Linked DNA regions of Homo sapiens: region 1 is linked to region 2. Evidence: promoter capture Hi-C in human tissues and cell types (Jung and others, 2019). All regions are on one chromosome and are shown on one strand. Each heading gives the region's core, a stretch centred on a gene start or on the middle of the fragment in contact. The rest is flanking DNA. Distances are from core to core; before and after follow the strand shown.

Evidence for each region. The method cuts DNA at HindIII sites, captures the fragments that hold promoters and counts their contacts. A contact is called where the count stands out against the background at its distance.
Region 1: a fragment that was not itself captured here is called in contact with the fragment with the promoter of ACMSD in region 2 in 1 of the 25 tissues and cell types used here (mesendoderm cells).

What each region holds. Positions count from the first base shown.
Region 1 is chr2:134,779,106-134,781,805 of GRCh38, forward strand. No RefSeq gene overlaps it. Among named protein-coding and RNA genes, the nearest start is that of ACMSD, 58 kb to the right of the region's middle. The HindIII fragment of the contact is 6,962 bases long and covers 1-2,700 here.
Region 2 is chr2:134,837,192-134,839,891 of GRCh38, forward strand. ACMSD (aminocarboxymuconate semialdehyde decarboxylase) reads left to right here and starts at 1,425. Exons shown (of 10, transcript NM_138326.3): 1 at 1,425-1,548. The coding sequence starts at 1,492. The HindIII fragment of the contact is 2,006 bases long and covers 754-2,700 here.

The DNA.
Region 1 (2,700 bases), core at 85-2,584, 58 kb before region 2:
GTTACCAGTGGATGGTGTCCAGGTTCTTGGCATTCTGAACAAAGAATTGTTCACAATGCACAAACAAAGCAAGGAAAGAATTAAGCAAAAAAGCAGAAATTTATTGAAAACAAAATTACACTCCACAGGGTAAGAGCAGGTCCCGAGCATAGGGCCTCAAACGCTCAAGAGCCGGTTATAGAATCTTCTGGGGTCCAAATACCCACCAGAGGTTTCCCATTGGCTACTTGATGTTTACCCCATGCAAATGAAGTAGTGGCTCACAATCAGTCTGATTGGTTGTGACCAATCAGAGGTACTTTCCATTTTCCATATGCCTGCAGAAAAGTGGGGTGGTAGGGGTTGCAAAGGGAGTAGCCTCTGGTCCTTTTGCTACTTAGGCATGGAAAGTTGGGATTTTCCTCTTGATTTAGTTCTAGGAAGTCAGCGTGAATTGGCCTTAGTTTCCCTGCCTCCAGACCCTATTCTCTTGTCTCAGTCCCACCACTGACTAGCCGTGATCTTGAGCAAGTCATTTTTCTCAGTGCCTCAGTCTCCTCGTCAGTAAAATGGAAATAATAGTACCCACTTCCTAGGGTTGTCATGAACGTGAAATAAGTTGATATTTGAAAAGCACTTGAAATAGCGCCTGGCCACACAGTTGGTGCTGTGTTTAATGAATGAACACTGCTCTCAGAACCTCAAACTCCGGAGGGTCCCCTGTGGTTGAAGGCACAGGGCACGTGTGAGATAACCATTTAGAATTTTTAAGTGTAAAATTATTTTTGTCCAATCTTCTTTTGGAATCTGGGCAGGTCCTTGGGCTGCAAAACTTCTTTTCTCCTAAACCTCTGTACTATGGATATAAGTTTCTTTTGCCTGTTTCTTACACTAAAGGACTGTGGAAATGAATAAGGAAGATGTCTGTGAAGTGCTTTGAATTCTCTGCAGGAAAAGTGTATCATAAATAAAAGGTGATCTAATTTTTGAGGCACTTTTTTATAATCTTTTATGTCTAACTGTTTCACATTGTTGTCTTTCTTCTAGTATTCTCTATTTACCAGGTGAAAAAAAGAAAAAGAAAAAAGAATACCAATCAAAAATATGATGTTTCATGAAATGTTTGTCCCTCAGCTCTCTCATAAAATTTAGAGCTGGGTGGCCTATGATATGTATTTAATATATTTTCTTATGTTTGTATTTAATATATTTAGATTTAAAATAAATTTTCATGTGTTAAACAGAAGAAGGGATTTCTCTTACACTGAATCCGGAAAATTAATCTGACATCTATCTAAAAATAGAGATGGTTTCTTTTCTAATTTTTTTATTTCTGGAACAGGGTCTCACTCTGTCACCCAGGCTGGAATGCAGGGGCACAATCTTGATCTTGGCTCACTACAACCTCTGCCTCCTGGGTTCAAGTGATTCTTCCACCAGCCTCCCTAGTAGTTAGAACTACAGGTTTGCACCACCACACTGGCTAATGTTTGTACTTTTTGGTAGAGACAGGGTTTCACCATGTTGGCCAGGCTGGTCTCAAACTCTTGACCTCAGGTGATCTGCCCACCTCGGCCTCCCAAAGTGCTGGGATTACAGGTGTTAGCCACTGCGCCCAGCCTGTTTTCTTTCTTCTATGTCCTTTTCTCTATTTTTGAAAACCCACTGCTGTTCATTTGCCTTTCCCAGATGTTAGCTGGAAAGTCTAAATCTTTTTTAAAGCCTAGGTAGAAGAACTCACAGACACACAAAAGTGTTGATAAGACCAAAGGTGGAAGTTACATCAAAATCTCACAGAATTCAAAATTCTGCATCGTTGCCACTTCATCTTCCATTATTAAATGCATAGAAATCACAAGATGTGTGCCTGTGAGAATTTCTTGAATTAACAAACATCCAAAAATGTAGAACTAATGGGAATGACATTTAGGCTTTGAGGCAGGGCTAAATTCAGATTTTAAAAGGTGGTCAGCTGTTCAATGCAGATGTTGTTTTAATCTAGTGCTATGATCATTTCATCAAACGAGCATGTTTCTTGAAGTGGCAGGAAATTTGGGTCTTGAGATATGTTTAAAAGGGGTAGTTCCTGTGATCCTCCTAGGTGCATGTGTGAATTACACTCAACTGTGTCCTCTCCCAGGATCTTACCAGTGTTTTTTCAAACTGGGTCATGACCTATTCATAGGCCTTGAAATCAACTTATGAATTAAAGCTAGCATTTAAAAAAATAGAATAGGAGATAAAAGAAAACACAACATCAGAGGAATGCATTATGTGTTCAAAGAGAAAGCTTTGTTTCAGTTCATTTATGAGTGTGTGGGGGTGTGTTTGGTTAAGATACAAAATGTGTTTTTTAGGGTGAGTTACAGTTAAATATCTTTGAGAGCCACTAAGATTACTACACGCAGATTTCCCAGCCCATCATATTGCTAGTAGGAGAGAAAACTAGTACAAACCTAATGGAAAATAATTTTTCAAGAAGTTTCATAGACCTTGAAATTAGCCACACCTCTAAACCACTTATTTCATCTTTGGTTATCTACCTTAAGGAAATAATCCAAAATTCAGCAAAGGCTTTGCACAAAAATATTCACTACACTGTTATTCATTATACTGGAAATCCCAAACAGCTTAAATGCTCAAAACAGCAACATTAAGTCCATTTTAGAAGATGAAAATGGTTGAGTATTGTGTCATCATTAAAAGCAATATTTTCAGAGG
Region 2 (2,700 bases), core at 175-2,674:
TATGAGTAATAAGTGAACCGACTTTATTAAAATTCATGGACCAGTGCCTGGCCCATTGGGAGTGCTCTAAAAATGCTTGCACTTACTTACTCAGTATTAGCAAGTGCCTCCATGTTAGTTTAAGGCTTACTCATTCAGTTTTAGCTCACTGAACTTCTAAAAAAATGGATTTCAAGGATTTCCTTTATTTTCTTTCAAGCTGTCTGTTATAATTTATCCAGAATCTAGCTGAATTACAGAAGGAAGCTTTTTGACTACTCAATTTATGTGTTGTGGAGTCTGAGCTGAAGGCAGCAACCAAGGCAGGTTTAAGGGTTTGCCAGGGGACCTGGGGTCCCTTGAACATTTTAAGCTGTTCAGGAAGAGGAAAGGGTAAACACAGAACAATCAAGGGCTGTTTTGTTCCAGGCTCTCTTTAGAGGCATGACCATATAAGCCCCACTTTCTGCTATATTGGAAGCCCTCCCTGACTGCTCTGATAATGCTAAATGGAAATGGCTACTATCTTCTTTTCCCTACACTTTAGGATATGTATCATCTTTCTCTCAGTCAACCTTACATCGTCAGCATATAGCAGTTCTCCATAAATGTTTGTTAAATGCATGAATGAAGCTGGGTGCAGTGGCTCTCGCCTGTAATCCCAGCACTTTGGGAGGCAAAGGTGGGTGGATTGCTTGAGCCCAGGAATTCCATACCAGCCTGGGCAATATAGTGAGACCGCATCTCAAATTAAAAAACAAAAAAAAAAGGAAAAAAATGCATGAATGAATGAGTCCAAGACAAAGGCACTGGAGGAAAAAACATATATGAAGAGTGGACTCTTTCTGTGATTTAAAATGTGAAACCTCCCCATAACTTTTCAACACGTTAAATTTTCATGAACAAGACAACTGTTAAATATTATTTAAAGATATGGGAGTAACTAACTGAACAAAAAGCAAAATCATAAAAACTGGCTGCTTCTGAATAGTGCAAGGAAAAGTAAGAAAAGGTGAGTCAGGGATCTATCCTTTTTCTGTAAAAGCCCTCTGCATGGTTTTATTTTTAACTACAAACTATTTAATTATTAACTATGTACAACTAAGTTAAAATATTTAAAATGAAAAATCAGTCAATTTTTGACCTGCTGTAAGTCAAAGCATCCTGCTGTGCTTTTGACCTCATACAGTTGAGTACAGTTGTTTTTTTGTTTTTGTTTTTGTTTTTGTTTTTTTAAGTTTTGTGCCAAGAGTCCTGACTACCAAACTGTGTTGACCCAAAGCTTGATTAACAAATAAAGCTTGGTTAACCAAAGCTTGGTTAACAAATAAACAGAACTTTGAACTTTAATAAAGCAGTTCTAATGGACCTAGACTGGGTTGGGCAGGCCTACTGACTGCTGCCTGAAGGTTGCTGTAAAGGGACTAAGTAAATCAATTAACTCCACAGTTTTCACAAAGGTCTCTTGATATCAAAACTTCTTTCCTTGCATGCTTCTCTGATCCTGTGGAGATGAAAATTGACATCCATAGTCATATTCTACCAAAAGAATGGCCAGATCTAAAAAAGGTAATGGTAATTAATTTGCTGAATTATTTCTGAAACTTCTCCAGGGTTTCTCAATGCCTTTCTCTTCTTTGTGGAATTAGATGTCTAGTTTATCTGCTTTGGTGGGGGGCGAGGGGGTTAAATCATTTGGTAGTTCTGATTTTCTAGCTTTTAAAAATGACTTTTATATTTATTTTGAAATAACATTGGATTAAAGAAATAAGTGCTTTCTCAGAAACCCTTTTTTCCCTCAAATGAACCATTCTTTAAAATATCTGGACAATTTAAATAAGGCAGATTTACCTTTTCAAAAATCACATATTCAGCTGCTGGGAAGATACATGCCAACTACAGAATTTAAAGTTACAATTTTAAGTAGAAGACCATTAAAAATGGAATGTGATCGGTTTCAAGGACTTCTAAAATATATCTCCTTTCCAAAATGTTTAAAATAAGTTTTAGAAGCACCAAGAGATAGCTTTGTGAATTTTTTTAGTCTATTTTAGGACACTGCCTGAAACCTTTACTGTTTGATGTTCTTTATTCTATAAATCTTTGTCCTGAAGAACTAGGAAGTAGGTACATCAAAAAACCCGAGAATAAATGACATGAAGCTTTTGCACAGTGACATCTCCTAAGAGAGTATTCTTTGTGTTTCTCTAAAGATGGAAATTTCCTTTTGTCATTAAGAACTTTTGAATGAATATAAAAAGAGGAAGGTGAGGAACATGAAAGAAATGTAAAATTGGCTAGAGGTTTGTTCAGGCTTAATATCAGGTTTTACCCAATCTTCAGCATTCTGCCAGTACTTTCACACCACCGATAATGTTTCAACTTTTTTATCCCAAGTGAGGGAAAATGAATTAACCCAAACTTGAATTAAATGTGGTTCATTGTGCAAATAGATGAAACTATTTTCTTCTCATAGTTGTCTCATTGAAGAATGTTTATCTTAAGTATTTCTTTGTCCATTGGTATCTTAGGTAAGAGGGGTGGTAGAAACTGTGGATTGAAAAACAAAATCTTTGAAAGCCTATCCTATGCACAGCTAACGATAAAAGATAAACCTCTCAACCTGCTCTTCCTAAAAGGACTCTACATGTTTACACAGGAACATGCTGTTCTGAGTGCTGTTGTCCTCATCATAGTTTACTGAAGTGTAAACCACTTCAC